2 separate regions of the Homo sapiens genome follow, and region 1 is linked to region 2. Evidence: promoter capture Hi-C in 16 types of primary human blood cells and fetal thymus (Javierre and others, 2016). All regions are on one chromosome and are shown on one strand. Each heading gives the region's core, a stretch centred on a gene start or on the middle of the fragment in contact. The rest is flanking DNA. Distances are from core to core; before and after follow the strand shown.

The links. The method cuts DNA at HindIII sites, captures the fragments that hold promoters and counts their contacts. A CHiCAGO score of 5 or more calls a contact.
Region 1: a contact is called between a fragment that was not itself captured here and the fragment with the promoter of DEFB124 in region 2, in 3 of 17 cell types (M0 macrophages, M1 macrophages and M2 macrophages). The highest score is 7.5, in M0 macrophages.

What each region holds. Positions count from the first base shown.
Region 1 is chr20:31,609,947-31,616,689 of GRCh38, forward strand. No RefSeq gene overlaps it. Among named protein-coding and RNA genes, the nearest start is that of MIR3193, 6.1 kb to the left of the region's middle. RefSeq lists a cis regulatory region at 577-1,175. The HindIII fragment of the contact is 152 bases long and covers 1,876-2,027 here.
Region 2 is chr20:31,472,533-31,478,533 of GRCh38, forward strand. DEFB124 (defensin beta 124) reads right to left here and starts at 2,595. Exons shown (of 3, transcript NM_001037500.2): 1 at 2,095-2,595; 2 at 424-506. The coding sequence starts at 481. It overlaps REM1 (RRAD and GEM like GTPase 1), which reads left to right and starts at 2,756. Exons shown (of 5, transcript NM_014012.6): 1 at 2,756-2,834; 2 at 3,695-4,253; 3 at 5,296-5,378. The coding sequence starts at 3,914. RefSeq lists a silencer at 2,648-2,707. The HindIII fragment of the contact is 9,153 bases long and covers 1,791-6,001 here.

The sequences.
Region 1 (6,743 bases), core at 702-3,201, 140 kb after region 2:
CACAATTTTTGCAACCCATATTGGGGAATGTCTATTTTTTTTTTTAAGACAGTTTTCCTCGTCACCCAGGCTGGAGTGCAATGGGGCGATCTCGACTCAACCGCAACCTCCGCTTCCCAGTTTCAAGCAATTCTTCTGCCTCAGCTTCCCAAGAAGCTGGGATTACAGGCATATGCCAACACGCCCAGCTAATTTTTGTATTTTTAGTAGAGACAGGGTTTCACCATGTTTGCCAGGCTGCTCTCGAACTCCTGACCTCAGGTGATCTACCCTCCTCAGCCTCCCAAAGTGCATGAGGCCACCGTGCCCGGCTCTTTTTTTTTTTTTTTTTTTTTTTTTGAGACAGAGTCTCGCTCTGTCGCCCAGGCTGGAGTGCAGTGGCGTGATCTTGGCTCATTGCAACCTCCGCCTCCCGGGTTCAAGCAATTCTCATGCCTCAGCCTCCTGAGTAGCTGAGATTACAGACGCGCACCACCACATCTGGCTAATTTTTATATATTTAGTAGAGACGGGGTTTCACCATGTTGCCCAGGCTGGCCTCGAACTCCTGACCTCAGGTGATCAGCCCTCCTCAACCTCCCAAAGTGCTGGGATTACAGGCGTGAGCCACCACACCCGACCCATGCCAGTCACTCTTATTGAGCACCAGGAACTGCCAGCCAGAGAGAGCTCCCTGCTGCCCAGTGTCACACACAGCAGGGCTTCCTGGTGGCAGGCAGGTCTCACATCCTAGCATGGCTGCCGGAAAGAAAGGAGGTGAGTCACAGGGCCAGGCCAGGAGCTGGGCGAGGCTGGGGCCAGGGTCCAGGCAGGCGCCACTTTCCAGGAAAGGGAAGGGAAGAGGAAACCAGAAGGCCAGGAGGAGCACAGGGAGGGGCGAGGGTGCCCTTATCTCCCTGGACCTGCCCTGGCTGGTGCTGCTTCCTGCTGCAACTCTTGCAAAACCTCGTTCCCAACGCTGTCCTCAAGCAGGGTGCCCCAGGCCAGTACAGGGTTGCATCAAGGCCTTGTGCAAGGGGGGTTAAAGGGAGGACAGTGGCTGGGAGCAAAGGCAGGGCAAGAGGCAAGGCAAATGCGGGTTCTAGGCCCAGTGCCACTTCTGGTTGGGCACCTGCTTCACCTCCTGGGCTCTTAGGATCCCCAGCATTTTTTTTTTTTTTTTTGAGACGGAGTCTCACTCTGTTGCCAACCTCTGCCTCCTGGGTTCAAGCAATTCTCCTGCCTCAGCCCCTCCAGTAGCTGAGTCTACCGGTGTGCACCACGACGCCCAGCAATTTTTGTATTTTTAGTAGAGACAGGGTTTCTACATGTTGGCCAGGTTGGTCTCGAACTACTGACCTCAGGTGATCCACCTGCCTTGGCCTCCCAAATTGTTGGGATTACAGGTGTGAGCCACTGCACCCTGCCATCCCCAGCATTTTTTTTTTTTTTTTTTTTTTGAGACAGAGTCTCCCTCTCTTGCTAGCCTGGAGTGCAGTGGCAGGAGCTCAGCTCACTGCAACCTGTGTCTCCCAGGTTCAAGTGATTCTCCTGCCTCACCCTCCCAAGTAGCTGGGGTTATAGGCACGTGCCACCACGCCCAGCTAATTTTTGTGTTTTTAGTAGAGACGGGGTTTCACCGTGTTGGCCAGGTTGGTCTTGACCTTCTGACCTCGTGGTCTGCCCGCCTTGGCCTCCCAAAGTGCTGGGATTACAGGTGTGAGCCACCATGTCGCCCAGCCTCATTCCCAGCTTTTAAATGGGTGTTATACTCACCGTTTTGAGGTTTCAGTGATATCATCCCAAACCTTTGCACTCCTCAAGCCTCAGGCTAGGCCATTGTACTTCTACCTGTGAAACTAGCCCCAACTGGTTCTTTCAACAAATAGTTTATAAAGCTTCTACAATATACTAGGAACCGGGCCCCAGGAGTTAACAATTCAGATACAAATTCTTGCAGTCTTGGAACTTACATTCTTAGTGGGAGACACGCAGTAGATAAATATGCAGATGTGTAATCAGAGGTGCATTTACCTGGAAATTACTTAAGCTTAAACTTCAAGCCTCCTCACATGGAAAGAGTATCAGCCATGTGTTAGCATGATTTCTGTGTGTTTTGCAAGATTTGCAAAATGTTGTATTCTTTTCCTTAGAGGCTGCACAAACCTAGATCCTCTTCTTTATATATAGACGAGACCGAGCAGGGCCCAAGCTTGAAGGCATAGCTGCAGAAGACAAAGAATCGTGTCTGTGGGTGCTGTTCGTTGCTTGGGTTTGTTTTGTTATTTTATTAATTTATTTTTATTTATTTATATATTTTTTGAGACAGTTTCCTCCTTGTCACCCAGGCTGGAGTGCAATGGTACCATCTCAACTCACTGCAACCCCCGCCTCCTGGGTTCAAGCGATTTTCCTGCCTCAGCCTCCCAAGTAGCTGGGGTTACAGGTGCCTGCCACCACGCCCAGCTAATTTTTTTTTTTTTTTTAATTGTGAGACAAAGTCTCGTTCTGTCACCAGGCTAGAGTGCAGTGGCGCAATCTCGACTCATTGCAACCTCTGCCTTCTGGGTTCAAGCGATTCTTCTGCCTCAGCCTCCCGAGTAGCTGGGACTATGGCGTGCACCACCACGTCCAGCTAATTTTTTGTATTTTTAGTAGAGACGGGATTTCATCATGTTGGCCAGGATGGTCTCCAACGCCTGACCTCAGGTGATCCATCCGCCTCGGCCTCCCAAAGTGCTGAGATTACAGGCGTGAACCACCGGGCCCGGCCTGTTGTTGTTTTAATAGAGACGGGGTCTTGCATGGTTGCCCAGGCTGGCCTCAAAATCCTGGGCTCAAGCAATCCTCCCGCCTCTGCCTCCCAAAGCACTGGGATTACAGGCGTGAGCCACCCTGTCCGGCCCGGTTTTTGGGTTTGAGACCCTAAAATCTCTGGGCGGCAGAGAAGAGCTGGGAAGCGGGCCAGCGCTTTCCAGAGCACCTGGTCTCATGCAGCTGCAAACGCAGGCGCTGTGCCCGCCCCCGTCTTCCTTTGGCCACCAGCGCCCCCTCCCGGGCAGAGCCCGGGCTATGCCACCGTGGGCGAGAAAGGCGGCCTGGTTGCGGCGAGAGGCGGAGGCTGATGCCTTGGTGGCCTCTAGTGGACGCCTTGGGAACTGCAGTCAGAGCTGCAAGCGTGTTAGGAGAGTGAAGAGTTCTGCGCACATGTAAACCCTCAGCCCCTTCTCTCAGGCCCCCTTTGGCTACCGTTTCCCCCATTCTCTCATCCTCTTTCCTCTTCCTTGCTTGTGACAACCCCCTATGAGCCTCATTCCCTCCCTTTTTTTTTTTTTTTTTCTGAGATGGAGTCTCGCTCTGTCGCCCAGGCTGGAGTGCAGTGGCACGATCTCGGCTCACTGCAACCTTCGCCTCCAGGGTTCACGCCATTCTCCTGCCTCGGCCTCCGGAGTAGCTGGGACTACAGGCGCCCGCCACCACGCCCAGCTAATTTTTTGTATTTTTAGTAGAGAGGGGGTTTCACCGTGTTAGCCAGAATGGTCTCGATCTCCTGACCTCGTGATGCGCCCGCCTCAGCCTCCCAAAGTGCTGGGATTACAGGCGTGAGCCAGCGTGCCCGGCATTCCTTCCCTTTTAAAGGAGGAGATCTTGGGCTAATCTTGGAAATTTCTTTTCTTTTTCTTTTTCTTTTCTTTCTTCTTTCTTTTCTTTTCTTTTTTTTTTTCTTTGAGACGGAGTCTGGCTCTGTCGCCCAGGCTGGAGTGCAGTGGCTCGATCTCGGCTCACTGCAAGCTCCGCCTCCCGGGTTCACGCCATTCTCCTGACTCAGCCTCCCCAATAGCTGGGACTACAGGCGCCCGCCACCGCACCCGGCTAATTTTTTTGTATTTTTAGTAGAGACGGGGTTTCACCGTGGTCTCGATCTCCTGACCTCGTGATCCGCTTGCCTCGGCCTCCCAAAATGCTGGGATTACAGGCGTGAGCCACCGCTCCCGGCTTTTTTTTTTTTTTTTTTTTTTTTGTAGCCCAGGCTGGAGTGCAGTGGCGCGATCTTGGCTCATTGCAAACTCATCTCCTGGGTTCAAGCGATTCTCCTGCCTCAGCCTCCCGAGTAGCTAGGATTACAGGCGCCAGCCACCACGCCTGGCTAATTTTGTATTTTTGGTAGAGACGGGTTTCTCCATGTTGATCAGGCTGGTCTCGAACTTCCGACCTCAGGTGATAAGCCTGCCTCAGCCTCTCAAAGTGCTGGGATTACAGGCGTGAGCCACGGCGCTCAAGCTAATTTTGTTTTTTGTTTTTGTTTTTGTTTTTTGTTTTTTGTTTTTGAGGCAGAGTTTCACTCTTTCGCCCAGGCTAGAGTGCAGTGGCGCAATCTGGGCTCGCCACCAAGCCTGGCTCATTTTTTGTATTTTTAGTAGAGATGGGGTTTCACCATGTGGACCAGGCTGGTCTTGAACTCCTGACCTCAGGTGATCTGCCTACCTCGGCCTCCCAGAGTGCTGGGATTACAGGTGTGAGCCATCACGCCTGGCCTAATCTTGGAAATTTCTTTTTTTCAATTGTGAAATGTATCACACCTACAATAGAGCAGATATCACACGTCTGCAGTTTAAAGATAATAATAAAACCGGCCAGGTGCGGTGGCTCACGCCTTTAATCCCAGCACTTTGGGAGGCCGAGATTGCGCCACTGCACTCCAGCTTGGGCAACAAAGACTCTGTCTCAAAAAAAAAAAAAAATGTGTGTGTGTGTGTGTGTGTGTATATGTGTGTATATATATGTGTGTGTATATATATGTATATATGTATGTGTATGTATATATGTATATATGTATATACATATGTATACATGTGTATATATGTATATATGTATATACATATGTATACATGTGTATATATGTATATACACATGTATACATGTGTATATATGTATATATACACACATATATGTATATACACACATATGTATATATACACATATATGTATATATATAAAACTATAAAACACACAAGTACCAGCCTCTCTGCTTGAAATAGAATATTAGTTCATTTGAAGCCTGTGTTTGCCCTTCAGGATAAAATCCCCATAAGATTTTACCTCTTATCCAGAACTTTGTGTTAATCAATTGCTTGTTCTTTTATTTTTTTTCACATATGTACAAGTATGCATCCTTAAACAATCCATTACTTGATATTACCTGGTTTTGCCTTTTATATAAATAAAATCATATTATATGCAATTTTCTGCAACCTGATTTTCTCATGCAACATGAATTACATGAGAGTCATCCATGTTGATTTCTTGCCTTCATTCATTCATTTCCACCACTTTGTAGTATTCTTTTTTTTTTTTTTGAGATGGAGTTTTGCTCATGTTGCCCAACCTGGAGTGCAATGGCACGATCTCAGCTTACCGCAACCTCTGCCTCCTGGGTTCAAGCGATTCTCCTGCCTCAGCCTCCCGAGTAGCTGGGATTACAGGCATGCGCCACCATGCCCAGCTAATTTTGTATTTTTAGTAGAGACGGGGTTTCTCCATTTTGGTCAGGCTGGTCTCGAACTCCCGACCTCAGGTGATCCGCCACCTTGGCCTCCCAATGTGCAGAGATTACAGGCGTGAGCCACCGCACCCAGCCCACTTTGTAGTATTCTATTATATGATTTATTGCCCCAGTCTCCTGTGATGGACCTTTGGATTGTTTCATAGGTTTTGCTGTTATCAGCAGTGCTGCTCTGAATGCCCTCAGTGAATATGCGTTAAAAGGAGTAGGATGGCTGCATCCTAGGTGATGCACAATTTAAACATTACTAGGTTGGACTGGAGTCTATTTTGATTAAACAGAATAATCAGAACTGGAAGGTCCCTTACATACAGCTTAACCCAGCGCACTCATTGTAGAGATAGGAAAAGGAAAGCCCGGAGAAGTTCAGTGACTTGCCCAGGATCCCTCAGACCTGGCCTCTTGGGCTAAGGTCATAGCCTTGGAAGTGATTCTGGGAGTGAGGCATGAGAATATATTTCCTTCTCATTTTGAAGATGAACAAGACTGTATTTTACCCTTAAAATAGTCTTCTAGGCTGGTTTTAGAATCTGGGCAGCTGGGCACGGTGGGCTCACACCTGTCATCTCAGCACTTTGAGAGGCTGAGGTGGGCGGATCACGAGGTCAGGAGTTTGAGACCAGCCTGACCAACATGGTGACACCTTGTCTCTACTAAAAACACAAAAATTAGCCGGGCATGGTGGTGCACGCCTGTAATCCCAGCTACTCAGGAGGCTGAGACAGGAGAATTGCTTGAACCCAGGAGGCGGAAGTTGCAGTGAGCCAAGATCTGGCCACTGCACTCCAGCCTGAGCAACAGAGCAAGGCTCCGTCTCAAAAAATAATAATAATAATCTGGGCAAACTAGAAACACAGGATGCTCCTTGAAAACCATCCCGCCGGGCGTGGTGGCTCACACCTGTAATCCCAGCACTTTAGGAGACCGAGGTGGGTGGATCACGAGGTCAGGAGATTGAGATCATCCTGGCTGACATTGTGAAACCCCATTTCTACTAAAAATACAAAAATTAGCCAGGCGTGGTGGCATGCAACTGTAGTCCCAGCTACTTGAGAGGCTGAGGCAGGAGAATTGCTTGAACCTGGGAGGCAGAGGCTGCAGTAAGCTGAGATTGCACCACTGCACTCCAGCCTGGGTGACAGAGCGAGACTCCATCTCAAAAAAAAAAAAAAAAGAAAAAACCATCCCAAGACAAATACAC
Region 2 (6,001 bases), core at 1,345-3,844:
CCCCACCCCCTCCATGCACACACCACTCTAACCCCTTCCCTTGCCTTTCCTCTTCTCAGCACTTATCACCACCCAACATATGTTTATCCACTTATTTTCTATCTCCACCAACTAAAGTGTCAGCTGCATGAAAGCAAGGACCTTCTTTTCTTTCACTGCTACATGTCTTTCACTGTTATTATTTCACAACCATCATAACATAAATGAATATTTATTGAGAGAATCCCATTTTATAGATTAGGAAACTGAGGTACAGGCTGATTTAGCAACTTGCTCTAAGTTGCCCACCAAGTCAGTGGTGGGGCCAGAACTTAAATGCTGATAGAGGCCCCTCTGTCCTCCAGGACCTGAGAGTCTAGTCCTCATTTTTACAAGCACACATGTGCACACACACACACACACACATGCACACGATGTTGTTACCTGATGGCACATGACCCAGAACCAGGAGAGCCACAAGGAACAGAAGCAGCTGTGTCATGGCCACGGGGCTCCTGGGGAGGCTGCTGGAGAGAGCACAAGAGGAAAGACCCGAGCAGGCTGAGCCTCGCTGCTTCCAGCCCAGGCTTTATTGAGCTGCAGATGAAGGCAGTGCTGTGGGCAGCAGGCCTAAGTGGGAGTATGAGGCCATGTGGTCCCCAGGCTGCTTGGGATTTCAGCCAGCTACGTGGGAACTGGTCAGCCACACCCTCCGGAGCCTGTTGAGCTCGGAAGGGGAGGTAGAATTTTCTGAGGCAGTGTCTAGGGTCAGAAACTAGACATCTTCCCCACCTAAGAGAGTGGAAAAAATCTTGGCTTAAGAGAGACCTAGTTCAATCCCCCGCATCTCCCCCTAACTGCTGTGAGACATCAGACAAGTCACTTAACCTCTCTGAGCCTCAGGCTGTTGTCTATGAAATGATGACAAGCATCCCTTACAAGGCCAAGTGAACAGCATGTATGCAGGCCTACTCTAAAATGGGAAGAGTAATAGTACCCATGTCATAGAGAGTAATAGCTACCCATCTCATTTAGGGGACTAAATGAAGTAATACAGTGGCTCCTATACTATGGTTCCCCCAGCAAGCAGCAGCAACACCTGGGACTTGTTAGAAACACCAGTTCTTTAGCCCTACCCCAAACCTACTGAATTCACCTCTTCCTAAGCAGAAGAAGGCCACAGGTCACAGAGCAGCCCATGGGTCACAGGTTAAACCACTGGTTACAAGTTAGACCACAGATTCACTAACACTGGTCACAAGTTAGCTCTCTGGTCATTTGTTAGATCACTAGTCATAGATGAGAGTATGGGTGGGTCCCGGCAAAATGTGGCTTAACAAGCCCTCCAAGTGATTCTAACACACCGCCAAAGTTTGAGAACCCCTGAGATAATATCCGTGCAGAGCTTAGAACAGTGTCTGGTACACAGGAATCTAAGTTGCATCATGAAAGATGAGTAGGGGAAAAGGTATCCCGGGCAGAAAGAATAGAATGTGCCTAGAAGAGTAGGGCATGAGCCAAGCAAGGGTTTTCCTGGGAGGAGAGGTTGAAATGATTCTGCAGAGAATAGGTTGGGGCTTGAATGCCAAGTTCAGACTTTTGTATTATAGACAACCAAAAGTTTTTTAGCAAGAGTGTAAGCTGTTCATATTATAGTTTTAAATAAAGAAACTGAAACCCAAAGAGGGAAGTTGACTTGCCTAAGGTCACACAGCAATTGTGCTGCAGAGATGGAAAAGCCAAGTCACCTCACTCCCAGACAATGAAGGGTGCTGCACCACTCATGGCCCATCTTGCAAGTTAGAAAGGTAAGCTTAGAGGGCCAAGCCACGGAAGGAAGCCAGGCACGAGGGGGTTCTGTATCAGCTCCAAGACCTGTGGGGGCTGAGCCAGTCTGTTCAGCTGCTGTGGGAGTTATTCCAAGCTGAACACCTGAATCCCCTCAGCCATGACAATGAGCCCCACCCACAGGTGCAGCCTGGTCTCCATGGGCTCCACACACAGACACACCCCAATTTCTCAAGACCTAAAGGGAGGCAGCCCAGTCAAAGAGTCTGGATCCTGGCCCCTTGGATGGCCGACGTCACCAGCAATCTCTTTCCTCCTCCTCCATACCTGGGAGCATTTTTTTTTTCAGCCATCAGTAATAGAAACAGTAGACAGAGTGGCAGAGACCTCAGGCCCAGGCCCAGCTAAGCCTCAGTTGGTGAATGAATGAATGATGCCAAAATAAGATTTTCATAATTCTTCAGTGCAGACTTCCTGAGCTCTCTCTTCCTCCAAGCCACCTCCCAAAATTAATTCTTCATCCAGAGCAGAGTTTCTTAAAGTGAGGTCAGTGAACCGCCTGCATCAGGATCACTTGGGGCACTTGTTTAAAACGCAGATTCCCGAACCCCTCCCCCAGCACCGTGGAATCCGCCTCTCTTGGAAGGCGGGACCTGAAAATTTAGCAAGTTCCCCAAGTGGTTTTTCTGGGGGCTAATATGTTAGTGCATCCCCTTGATGGAGTGGACAGATGTGGACGCAGATGGAGCTCCAGACCCAGGAATCCAGAGCCCCCATCCTTCCTTTCTCGTCTGCCACCCTCACCCGGTGCGTAGGGCTGGCAGAAGCGGGTCAGCTGAGCTCTGCACTTTCAGAAAAGTCACTGAGCGGCCAGGGCCTTGGGGCGGGGACCCCGGGGCTGCCCTAATGGGGCGGGGCTGGATGGGGCGGGGTCGCGGCTCCTCCCCCGGCCGAGGCGGCGAGGGGAGGGGAACTGGCCTGAGGGGCTGCTCACTGAGGCGGGTGGTACAGCCTGGAGCATCCAGCCGCTGGAGCTGCGAGGGACCCTGGACCCCTCCCACGCCGAGGTAAAGCCCTGCGCTACGCGCCGCCAACTTGCTCAAGTTGGAGCAGAGTTCGCCAGGCGATTGAAGGGGGATTCGGCAGCGTTGGCAGGAATAGGGGGGCTTCGAAACCGCGTCCCTAGGGTGAGGGTCTTCAGACCTGGGACCCGGAGGGCTGGATAGCCCTGGACAAAGACCCCTCCAACCCCAGGATGGGGGATTCACACCCGGGATGCCGGCTGAGAAAGCTCGGACCCAGACTCCAGGAATGGCACAGCGTTCCCGGGCCCTGTGGTCTGCCCTCCCCGTCCCCTGCCAGGACCCTGTCCTGTCACCTAACCTGGGGCCTGACCGGCGGCAGCTCCCGTCCCCAAAAGCAGTTGGAGGCCGTAGCGCCAGCCGCTCCTGAATTTTTCACACAGGGGGCGGGTCAGACACGCGGTTCCCATGGCACTAGGGCACTCGGGTTACAGTCGGGTTACCCCCATACCCCCCTCGCGCTTCTGGAGTGCCAACCCGCCCTCCTGCCTCTTCCTCCTCAGACCCCGTGAAATTGGGCATCGAAAGTTAAGTAGCCCCTACCCTTGGGGGAGACCTGAAACTGCACTCCCAACCCAGAAGCTGTGAAAGAGAGCGGTGGGGAAGGGGAGGAGGGGGACAATTCAGATGTCTTTCAGAGCCAGGGCCTCATGTTCTGTGGCAAGGGCAGGTCCGTGTACACGGAATGGGGAGTGTGCATGTGAGGACATCCCACCTTACTACTGCCCCTCCACCTGCCTGTCTGTCATCAGGAGTAGATCATCCTTAAGACAAGGGAATGGCCTCTGGGTGTGCATGTCTGTGTGTTCACAGCCTGCACACTCACTCCTTCCATCCGGATCCAGGTTTATGCAGAGCCTGAGGCCAGAAAACCTAGGGACTTTCTGCCCCAAGAAGCTGAGGCACCTCCTACTCCCATCTGAACAAGAGGGGGATCTGGAAGAAGCCATACAGCAGCTCATCAGGACACTATAGAAAGAAGCAGCTCAAAGCAATTGGCTGACAGCCAATTCCCCCTTCTTTCAGAAGGAAAGAAGGAAGAAGCAAACCCCCCCCTACCAAAGATGACACTCAACACCGAGCAGGAAGCAAAGACCCCTCTGCACCGGCGAGCCAGCACCCCACTGCCCCTGTCCCCACGGGGCCACCAGCCTGGCCGCCTGAGCACAGTGCCTTCCACTCAATCCCAGCATCCCCGGCTGGGCCAATCAGCCTCCCTCAACCCTCCCACCCAGAAACCTTCACCTGCCCCAGATGATTGGTCTTCTGAATCCAGCGACTCTGAAGGCTCCTGGGAGGCTCTCTACCGTGTGGTGCTACTTGGAGATCCTGGAGTGGGGAAGACCAGCTTGGCCAGCCTCTTTGCAGGGAAGCAAGAGAGGGACCTCCATGAACAGCTGGGAGGTAGGGGCCATATGGGCTGGGCTGGGATGTGGCCAAAGGAGCGAAAGCCCTGTCACCAGGGACACAGGGCTGCCAAGAACAGTTGTACAAGTCATGCACTGTTCAACTCTAAGGGGCATCATTCACTTAGACTATGACATGCACGATGCCCCCCCGCCCTCCAAAGTTGTACAGGGCACAGCCTGCACAATGGTCAAGGGGAGGGAAATTCTTGAATAGAACAAGAATTTTGCCAACTTCCCATGAATGAGAAGTATATGATTCATTTCCATGTCATGCGGGTGGCAATTCTGAATTCCATGTTAAGAAATGGTGGACTTCCACCAAGGTCAGAAACTCCCCTCCCTGACTCCTCTGACTCTTAGATTCTCCCAGTCCCATAGACACCCATCCATGGTCACCATGATCTACAGCAAAACTAAGATCCTTTGCAGAAGGGAGACTCCGAGACCCCAAGTTCTGGGCCCTGGGTTGCTTTATTCCCAAGAACTGCTGTGAGCTGAGAGTGTCGGGGGCCCCAGGATGATGGGGTACAGGGAAGATAGAAGAGATGAAGGTAGGCCCCTGAAGGACTGGCCAAAAGGACATAGGGTGAGTGGGGGAAGGGGGTTGATTAAATGCAGAGAAAAGGTAGGGACATCTAGCCAGACTCCTCTCTAGTCTTGACTTCTCTCTCCGAGTGAGAACACATATGTGTTACAGATAGGGAGACTGAGGTCAAGAGAGGATAACATGACCTGCCTGAAGCACTCACTAAATCAGAGACAGAGCAGGCCTGGGAGAATTCCTAGCCCAACTTTAACCCCACCACCCCACCTTCATTCAATCAATCAAATCTTTCTGGCACCTACTATGTGCCAGGTACTATGGCAGCTGGGGAGACATGGGCTCCTACCAGGAGAGACAGGCATCAAACAAGTGTGATAAGCGTTTCCGAGGACAAGTGGAGGGGGCGATATGACCAGAAATGGGGGGCAGGGAACACCACACTCTCTCAGGCTTGCCCGTCCTCCCTGAGATCCAGCTCTTCCCTCGGTTGCAGAAGATGTATATGAGAGGACCCTCACGGTGGATGGAGAAGACACCACACTGGTGGTCGTGGACACCTGGGAGGCCGAGAAACTGGTATGGCACTGCAAGCAGAATTTGGGGAGAGGGGTGCTGAGCCTAATACTAGACTCCTTCCTGTCCCCTCCTGGGGACACTACAGATCAGGTGTGAGCAACGGCCATCCTCAGCACCCTCCCCCAAAACCCACAGCTCCTAAGCAGTCTTTCCAATCCCAAACAGAAGACCCTTATGACCCTGACCCCTTTTCTCACTCCACAATCCCCTCCTAGCAGCCATCTCAGAATGTACTTCTCCCCCTGCAGATCTCCCCATCATTATTTCCACCCTCTTCCCACCCCTCCCACCCACATTGTACAGAAGGAACGCTGGATTTGGCCCCAAAATACCTAAGGCTGAACCCCCTTTCTTTTTCTTACTAGTTGTGTAGTTTTGTGCAATTGACTTAGCCACTCCGAGCTTCAGTTTTCTCATCTGATAAATGGGTTAACCATTCCTGCCTTCCTCATCAGCTAGTTTTTTAAAGTTCTTATGCAATTTCAGAGGTAAGCCCAGTTTAAAGCATGAAAAACTGCTGAATAGGGGTGAAGAATTGTAAATGATAACTCTTAGTAATTATGACTTGGTAGCTAGAGAAAAAGGAAATCAGGGCAGGAAGACAGCAGTAGGCAGGAATATGT